Linked DNA regions of Homo sapiens: region 1 is linked to region 2. The links are contacts of gene promoters, found by promoter capture Hi-C in blood cells and fetal thymus (Javierre and others, 2016). All regions are on one chromosome and are shown on one strand. Each heading gives the region's core, a stretch centred on a gene start or on the middle of the fragment in contact. The rest is flanking DNA. Distances are from core to core; before and after follow the strand shown.

Evidence for each region. Contacts are between HindIII fragments. The CHiCAGO score rates a contact against its expected background, and 5 or more counts as called.
Region 1: the fragment with the promoter of IFNGR1 here is called in contact with the fragment with the promoter of HEBP2 in region 2 in 1 of 17 cell types (naive CD8 T cells); the score reaches 5.4 in naive CD8 T cells.

The regions. Positions count from the first base shown.
Region 1 is chr6:137,216,721-137,221,444 of GRCh38, reverse strand. It overlaps IFNGR1 (interferon gamma receptor 1), which reads left to right and starts at 2,060. Exons shown (of 7, transcript NM_000416.3): 1 at 2,060-2,202. The coding sequence starts at 2,118. RefSeq lists enhancers at 1,590-1,839, 1,690-2,420, 3,861-3,920 and silencers at 1,880-2,109, 2,150-2,369, 2,830-2,879. The HindIII fragment of the contact is 10,215 bases long and covers 1-4,724 here.
Region 2 is chr6:138,401,139-138,406,046 of GRCh38, reverse strand. It overlaps HEBP2 (heme binding protein 2), which reads right to left and starts at 1,824. Exons shown (of 4, transcript NM_014320.3): 1 at 1,450-1,824; 2 at 767-902; 3 at 1-76. The coding sequence starts at 1,551. It also overlaps the pseudogene MARCKSL1P2. RefSeq lists enhancers at 1,568-2,088, 2,610-3,130 and silencers at 1,359-2,208, 2,339-2,408. The HindIII fragment of the contact is 19,528 bases long and covers 1-4,908 here.

The DNA.
Region 1 (4,724 bases), core at 811-3,310, 1.2 Mb after region 2:
TGATGATCACGATTTCAGTACTTGTGTAATTCCTTGTTTAACAGCTATCTCCCTCAGTAGACAGTAAGCTCCGTGAGGGCAGGGGCCATGTCTGTCTTGCTCAGGTCTTTATCTCTGTGCCTGGTCATGTCAGTCACAGACAGTATCACTTGATAATATTCACCCAATTAATAAATATATTTAGTCTCCAAATGACTAACTAGCAAAGTCTTCAGAAGGATACGTAGGGTGGTGGGTGCTGTGATTGTGAAACTTGCCCAGATCCCTCTCAGGAACAGAAGACTGGGTTCTGTCCCCTTCCTGATGCTAGGAGGGCTGCCAGTAGACACCCTCAACCGTCAGCGTTCCTCTGGGGAATGCCTCCATGAAAGAAATGGACAGCCCCAAAATCATGACAGTTGGTATTCAATGACTAATCAGTGCTGGGCTTTAAGACCCAGCCCCTCATACCAACTCAAGACACCTTTACAAGGCCATCCCAACTCCAGAGCGCCCCTTGGGAGCCTTTACTGGGATGGCATCACAGATCAACTTCTTCCTCCGCTCTGCTTCCTCCACCTCCCCTTCACAGACGTTTATTCCAAGAGCACTCCCTAATCAATCAATGCCTTATACCTTAATCTCGACCTCAGAGTTTACTGCCAGGGTAACCCAGCCTGTGACAAGTACCACAAAAATGTTTACAAACTGGATATCATATTTTGTCCTACTCCATAGACGCCTAAACGGTAAAGATCAGTTATTTATCCTTGCATCCTTACAACGACTAGAAGGTGTCTTTCATATAGTGGACATCAGAAACACATCAAAGGAAATATTCTCCCTAAACTTAGTCTAGATTGAGCTAAATTCTTCTGATTCAAAGTGTGGTCCTGTTGAAAGGGGCACCAGCATCCCCTGTGCATTTTGTCCGAAATACAAAATCTCAAGACCCAACCTGAATTAGAACTACTGAATCCAAATCTGCATTTTATCAAGATCCCCAGATGGTTCACATGTATGTTGAAGTTTGAGAAGTACTGAGCTAAGAGATTTATTAATACAAGTAAAATGATCTGGCTGATAATACCTCTAGTTTATATAGTGTCTTTATAAGGATTTTCCCTCTTTAAAAATTTTCCTTAACACTAGTAATCATGCAGTCTTTCACTCAACAAATACTAATTGAGTGCCAAGTAAAGATGTCAGCTCTACGGAGCTTACATTTTAGAAGGAGAAGAAAACAAATATCAAGGTGTATATTATAGTGTACAGCAAGGTGAAAAGTGCCATGAAAAAACAGTAGGGCGGGGTAAGGAGGAGGAGAAGGTGTGTTGCAATTTAAAATTTTTAACAAAAGTTCATGATACTCAGAGAATTGAAACAGGTGAGATCATTAGACATTCGCATGTTTGAGCACAAGCGCTGAAGGACTTAGCAATGTGGCTGCAGTGGAATAGGAGAGATGCAAAATAACAGACAAACCCAGAGAGGTAAGAGAGCAGACCTCTTCATGAGAGGCTGCCTGATAAACTGATTTGACACTGAATTGCTGAGAAGGTAATGCAAATAGTTTTTTTCTCCAAGAACAAAGTAGTTCTTGGTCAAGCCGATTTGATTTGGGCTGTGGGAATCTGCACAAACCATTTCACTAGCTAAGTCTCAGGTTCCTCAAATGAAAAAGCAGGGACTGGAAATGGCTTTTGAAGTCTCATTCTCTTCTAAAAATGTCAGGCTCCAAGACAACCAGGTGAAGTCCAAGAGTTAGTAAAATAAGGATTGTGGCTCGGCTGTGGCCTAATGCAAACTTGCACAACCCCAGGAAACCGAAAAAAACTGGAAGAAGAATTGCAGAATGGGGTGCCAGGTTGAAAGACCTTAACCTTTGCACTCAAATTCCTCCCACACCCAGAAGTCCAGGTCCCGACCGCACGACGCCGTGCTCACTGCTGGGTGCTGCGCCTGAGTCCGCCTCCTGCGGCTTCCCGGACTTGACCCCGCCCACGCCCTGGTCCCGCCTCCTGCCGACGCCGGCACAGACCCCGGTGACGGAAGTGACGTAAGGCCGGGGCTGGAGGGCAGTGCTGGGCTGGTCCCGCAGGCGCTCGGGGTTGGAGCCAGCGACCGTCGGTAGCAGCATGGCTCTCCTCTTTCTCCTACCCCTTGTCATGCAGGGTGTGAGCAGGGCTGAGATGGGCACCGCGGATCTGGGGCCGTCCTCAGGTACCGTCGTTCGCGGCAGGGCTGCGGCCGGGTCGGGACGAGAGGGAGGGAGGGATCCGCCCCAGCCGGGAAGCCCCGCCCCGCTTCTCCGAGGTCGCCCTAGCCCGGGACCCCTGCGTCGGGCCCTGAGCGGGCGACGGGGACGCGAGGTGGGGTCGCGAGACTGGGGCTCCGTGGTTTGAACTCGTCGGTTGCCTTTCTCCTGCCTCTTCCCTGGTTGCCGCCACAACAAATCACGCCGCTTGTTTTTCCGACTCTTGTAATCCACTTTTAAATACGATTATGCGCTGCAGAAGGACGTTGCTGGTCAATGTGGGACAGCGTGGTCTCAAAGATTATAATATCGTCTTCTTACTGTACCTTTTTTTATGGTTAGATACGCAGATACTCACTAGTATGCTACGGTTGCCTGCAGTGTTCAGTGCAGTGACAGGCTGTACAGGTTCATGACCTAAGAGCAGTAGGCTGTGTCATCTGGGTTTGTCTGGGTTTCTACTGCCCGAAGAAATTGCCTAAGGGGACATTTCTCCATTTCTCAGAACGGATCTCCATCGTTAAGTGACGCATGACTGTGAGTGTCCTGATCAGCATGTGGCATCGTGGTCTCAGTTCGTGGCTTAAATACTTCTTTCTTAGCGGGGGTGGGGGGGGGGACTCAAAGTGCTTAGGGTAGGAAAGTATGCATTATGTCGCCAGCTGAGAAGTAAGTGGCAGCTGAGAAGTAAGTGGCAGTCCGTCTTAGGTCTCAGTCTGGAAGTGGTGGATTGCCGGCACTCACTAGCAGATTTGGCAGTAGGTCTCTTCGTACGGGTTTGTTCTTCGGAGCATTTTATTTCCACCTGCTTATTGACATTTCCTAGAAAACAAATGTTGAGGGTGGCTTTTCTGAAGTGCAGAGTAATTGTGATTACGAGCTCCAGAGAAAACAGTAAACCTTTTCAATTCAGTTTTCTTTTTTTTATTATGATTTATGATTCATAGGGACTTTGAAAGGTCCACGTTTTGGTTCTGTGTTCACAACAATCTTCTGGAGTAGGCGTTATTTGTCTCTCTCTTTATGGACGAGAAATTGAGTTACGGAGAGGCCTGCCCAACTGGCAGAGAGGTCATAGCCACTCAGTGGGGAGCTGCTCAATTTGGCTCCAGAGTCCAAGTTCTTAACTGCTCTTCTAGGCTCTAGTCAGTCATCCACATGGGCAGTTGCAGTACTTTGCGGTAAGAGCTTGCACTTAGGCACAGACTAGTGGAAAGCAAGGCGGGGTGCTTGTCTCTTTTAGGGAAGTCAGTGAAGACTTCACAAAGGTGACCCCAGTGTTGGAACCAGAGGTGCAGAGACTGAGGTGCAGAGGTGTGATAGCATGTTGAATTCGTGGAATATTAAGCGTTCTATTGTAAAGTGTGTGTGAGAGCTTACAAGGGGAGGAGATAGGTTAGGTGGAGAAGTAGGAACCAAATAATGAATTGCCATATTATGTGTACCAGCAAGAAACCTAGCTTTATTAACTTAAGCAAAAAGAGGAATTTATTGTCTCAGAAAAACCAGAGTTAAACAGAAAATTATAGATGCCAGCTGGGTCTCAAGAGGCTAGAACCAGGAACCCAAACTGCTAGGACTCTCCATTTCTTATTTCTGTCTGGGTATTGACAGCTTTCCACACTTGGCAGGAATCATGGATGCTGACAGCTTCTGAGTTTTGACATCTTGCAGCCTCCTCCATTCTAACAAAATGCCAGGGAAAGGCTCTGATTTGCCCAGCTAGGTTCAGGTGCCAGCTTGCATGGGAAGGACATTCTCGTAGAGGGTTGGGTTGGGTTACCAGAAGAAGCGGAATGGCGTGCCTGAAGTACAGGTGTTGAGCCAACAAAATAATACACCCACTATGCCTTGCTGAAGTCAGTCATTATTTACTAATGCTGACATCATTGGATTATCAATTACAAAGGGAAATGATTTTATGCAGGATCAGACATGCCATTTAGAAAGACCAGTCATCTTATAAAATAGTTTGAGGGTAAACACAAGGCCCATTAGGAGGCTGCTGCTTAAGTTGGAGTCGATAAGTAGTTTAAGTGGAGAAGAGGACAGTTAGCAGAACATTTAGAAGGAAGAGTTAGTAGGCCTCTGACTGGATGTCAGCAGAGAAAGAGGATAACGCTAGCGCAGGCATAGCGTTAAAGCAAGTGCCAGGCCCTTCCTTCTGAATACGGGGCCCTATGAGTGCACCGTGTGACCCCTGTGAGTGCACAATTTGCACGTCCTTGTAGCTTGCTCTGGGAGGAGGATTGCCTGTCTGCCTCCCGTGGGAAGATCAACTGCAGCCTTCTATATTCTGCAGAAACTTTTGAATTTGTCTCTGTACCTCTCGTTCTAAAACTGGGGTCACTTTTGTGAAGCCTTTCCTGACTCCCCTAGAAGAGACAAGCACCCCGGCCTTGCTTTTCATTAGTTTCAGTGAGCCCTCTTTTTAAAGTGCATTTCTAACACATTTCTCTAGATTTTTCAGTGCATTTCTCTAGATTTT
Region 2 (4,908 bases), core at 575-3,074:
ATGGTAGACTCACTAAAAGGACCTGAACCAGGCTCCACGTAGCTTGTCACTGGAGCTGTCATCTTTATTTTCATCTCTGTGACATAAAAATGAAAGCAAATTTAGTGTATTTTTGACAGCTTTAAACATTTAACCTATTCTTTTTTGATCTGGGTTCCTTGATTTACTTCACATTGTTGACATATTTACCTTTAAGATAATTTTCATCTTAAAACAGTAAGGCCAAAATTACTCAATTGCTCACTGCCCACATTAAACCACTTTCTGTAATACTGATATTCTGGGTTAATAAATTCTTAATTTTTAGAGATAAAAGGGGAAATTAGAGATTACATGGTCAGTAAATTATTTTTTCTTACCATTCAGAAAATGAGGTCCCACAGGCTAAGAGACCTGCTAAAATATAAATAGCAGCAAAGCCAGACCAAAAGCTATGACTTGATGCTTCTAATCTTGGTACCTTCTTGCCTCCTGACGTCTCTGATCCTACCAGTCACCAAATTATCTTGAGGTGTTAGCCATAGAAAAGGACTTATCACGAGTTACACCAAACCCCAGTTCATCCAGCAAAATCAGAGAACAGAGGTTGAAAAGTAATACCCAGTGTAACCCTGGTCCTGAGGAGTCTTGTCTGAAAACAAGACAAGTCTTTGATGACTTGCTTATTTTTCCATTATAAAGGATATTTCTTTAATAAGCTAAAACTCAATAATAAGCCCGGGGACTCTTTCACAATATGCATAATTACAAGGAAAACTGCTTTTACCTTTCTCGTTTTTGCCTTGAATGTAGCTGTTCAGTTTCGTAAAGCCCGTCTGGATGGCTGAATCCCAGTCCATAGACTCCACGGACGTGCTGACCCACTTGGCTGGTCCATAGTGTCGGATCTCATAACTTCCGGGCTAAAGTGGAACAGAGAAAACTTCGAGAAGCAATTCTAAGAGGGTAGGAGTGAGATGCAAAAATACCGGTGCCATGATCTCGGGTCGACCTGGAGCCGTCCTGTCTAGGGGCTGCACCGCCCCGGGGTCCGGCCTGAGGTCCCCGCTCCTTAGGTCTGGGAGGTTCCCCTCCACGAGGTTCCCCTCCTTGCGATTAGGGACCGCAGCGGCCCCAACCCCACACGCTGGGGACTCGATTCACACTTTCAGACAAGCATCTATTACACCCCCTCGGTTCGGAGGGTTCCACCGCGCGTTCTGGGACGTAACCAGTTCCTCCCCGCCCCACCACCCCGCAAAGACAAGAAATTGAGATGGGACCTGCACTGGGGGTAGCGGGGAGGGTAGAGCTAAATGACCGGGGTTTCTCGTTTGCGTAGCATAGTGGGTAGGGACTGGGACCATTTAAAAAACTGTACTTTTTACTTAACTCTATGGGACCCGCTGGCCTCACTGCAAATCAGCCGGAAGGCGGGCCCAGCCCCTCCGCTCCCGAGTCGGCGCCTACCTGGGGGCCGGCGTCCTCCGGGGCCTTCCAGCCCGGCGTCTCCACAGCTTGGGCCGCCGCGTCCTCGGCCGCCCCGGGGTCTGGCTGGAGCGGCTCGGCCATGGGCGGCGCTGACGCTCTGGGAGCCTGGTCAGCCGCGCAGAGGCCCCGCACCCCGGGCCGCCCCGCCTGCGTGTGCGCGCCCCGCCGAGGCCCCGAGTCCCCGCTCCGCAGACCCGGTCCCTCCTCCCGGCCGGGCTGGAGACCCGAGCCCACCCGATGCGTCTGCCTCTGGACCGCGAGGGGGCGCCGCCACCAAGGCGGGGCCGGCTCACGACCCCGGACAGCTCCGGCCGGAGTTGCGCGTCCTGCCCCCGCCCCTCCGCGGCGACAGGGAGCCGCACCTCGCTTCGGCCCGCCTTCTTTTGAGGCACTTCCGCCCCCGCCCCGCCTTTGTTTTTGAAGGAAAGGCACACACAGGTGGCCCCGCGGGCAGTAGGGGGTGGCGCTGTTTCTGTGCAACCGGTTTGGGAACCTCTGCCGCGGCCCCGCCCGCGCTGGGAACCGCGGGCGCTGAGCCGCCTCGAGGGTGTCCCAGCGCACCGCAGGCAGAGAAAGGCAGGAGGTGGCGGCTGGCGACCCGACCCCCGCGGCCCCTGCCCGCACTCCTGGGGCTCAGCCAGGGCGAATGGCCGTACTCATCCCAAGAAGTTGTCCTAGGTCCCAGACAGCTTTCAGGGTCCCTTGCGGAGGAGGTGGTGGGACCACAGACACATGGAGAGAATCTGGAACTGTTCTGGTTTCTGAACTTTTCCCCGACAGGACCCCAGACCCTCTGAGTCATCCCCGCAGGCTTAACGAGACTCGGGGAGAGTTAGTGCCGAGGCCAGACACTAGTGCTTTTCAAGAATTTTGGTTACCAGGGCTTTCCCGAGCCGAGTGGGGTGCGGCTCTGTTCCCCAGCACCCCCTTTCCGCCGGCCAGGCCGACTCCGCGTTACTGTCCCCTGCGGCGGGGACCCGGCACGGCTCCGGCGCCCCCCAGAGGACTCCCATCGTGGGCAGCCAGAGCTCCGAGGCTCTCCGGGGCGACGTGACCGCCGCAGAGGCAGCAGGCACTCCCCACGCGAAAGCCAACGGACAGGAGGGTGGCCACGTGAAAAGCAATGGTGACATCCCCCAAGGGTGAAGGGGAGTAGGCCCCTGTGAACAGAAGAGGCAGCCGGGACCATTGGCAATGCCATGGAGCCAGCACCCCCTAGCCAGGGTGCTGAGGCCAAAGGGGAGGCTCCCTCCCTCGCAAGGAGACTTCCAAGAAGACGAAATTGCCTTTCAAGGCCAGGCACGGTGGCTCACGCCTGTAATCCCTTCATTTTGGGAGGCCAAGACAGGGGTGATCGCTTGAGCCCAGGAGTTCGAGACCAGACTGGGCAACATGGCGAAAACCCGTCTCTACAAAAATACAATAAAATAGCGTTGATAGTAGAGTGGAGAGCATAGCTGCCTTCCAAAAAAAAAAAAAAAAAAAAAAAAGCTGAGTGTGCTGGGGTTGTGATCTCAGCTACTCGGGAGGCTGAGGTGGGAGGATCGGCTTGAGCCTGGGGAGGTCGAAGCTGCAGTGAGCCGAGATTGCGCCACTGCACTCTAGCTTGGGTAACAGAGTGATACCCTGTCTAAAATAAATAAATAAATAAATAAATAAATAAATAAATAAATAAATAAATAATTATCTTTCAAGAAGGGTTTCTAAGAGCAGCTTGTCCTTCAAGAGAAATGGGAAGGAGGGTGGGGTGACTCTTCTGCCTCCTCACCTATGGAGGAAGAACAGGAGTGGGGGAAGATCAATGCCTGCAGCGACAAGGGCGCTGCCCAGGAAGGGAAGGCTGTTGCCACCCCTGAGAGCCAGGAGCCCCAGGCCAAGGGCGCAGAGGCAGTACTGCCTCAGAAGAAGAGGCAGGGCCCCAAGCTACAGAGCTGTCCACTCCCTCGGGGCGGAGAGTGGCCCTACACCAGCCCACGCTGAGCAGAATGAGTAGCTGGGTGGGCCAGGTGGGTGATCTCTAAGCTGCAAAAACTGCTGTTCTTGTGAGGTTACTGCCTGGACCTGGTGCCCTGGCTGCCCTCCTGTGCCCAGAAAGGAAGGGGCTATTGCATCCTACCAGCTACATTCCCTTTCCTTCTCTCCCTCCTGTGGATTCTCCAATCGGCCATGTGGCTTTCCTCGTAAGGCCAGTTGAAGACGGTCCCCCACAGCCTCCCAAGTTAGATTAGTGATATGAAATGTGCCTTTCCCTGGCCCTGCCTCCTTCCCTGTCCCCAGCCCTGCAGAAGGCAATTTTTGGTTTTCTTCCCCAATTCTTTTCCAAGTAGGTTTTGTTTACCCTACTCCCCAAATCCCTGAGCCAGAAGTTGGGTGCTTAAACTCCCAAACCTCGAGGGTCCGGCCTCCCCGCTGTTGAGTTTTTACTCTGGTGCTGTGCCTAGTGGCACCTGGGCCGGGCAGGGGGGCACTGCCCTGCCTAGGGTTCTATTCAAGTTCCAACCTTCAGCTTGTGAATCAACTGTGTCTCTTTTTTGACTCGGTAAGCACATGTTAGGCTTTGGGGCCAGGGAGAGGTCTGTAATGTGAAATAACTTCTTCTTGCCTTTTCTTCTCTCATTTTTATGAATAACTTTTAATGGCCAAACCCCAGATTTGTATTCTTTTTTTTTCTAACTGCTACAACCATTCTCTTCCACCTGGTTTTATTATAACAATTGGAAAAGGAATAAATATCCCTTAAATTTTTTTTTGTTAGATGTATTCTTTATTTTTTCCAAGAGATTTATTAAGATATAATTCATATACCATATAGTTCACCCATTTAAAGTGTACTAGTCAATGGTTTTTAGGATCTTTAGATCTGGGCAACCATCATCACAAGGACTGGGCAACCATCATCACAAGGTGAGAACATTTTCATCACTTCCCACCCTTAAAGAAACTCTATAACCTTTAGCCACCACCTCCCAATTCCCCATTCCCTATGCCTAGACAACTACTAATTTGTTCTCTGTCTCTATAGTTTTGTCTATTTGGAACATTTCATATGAATGGACTCATAATAGTACGTGGTCCTTTGTGACTGGTTTCTTTAACTTGGCAAAGTGTTTTCGAGGTTCATCTGTGTTGTGGCAGGTACTCCATTTCTTTTTATAGCTGATTAATAGTCCATTGGATAAACATTTTATCAACTTATCAGATGAGGGACATTTGGGCCATTTTCAACTTTTGGCTATTATAAATAAAGCTGCTCTACATGTTTATGTACATGTTTCTGTGTGCATGTATGTTTTCATGTCTCTTGGGTAAACATCTAGGAGTAGAAGTTCTGGGTCAAATGGTAACTCTATGTTTAACTTTCTGAGAAACTGCCAGACTGTTTTTTCGCCACTTCACATTCTCACTAACAAGGTGTGAGCATTCTATTTCTCCACATCC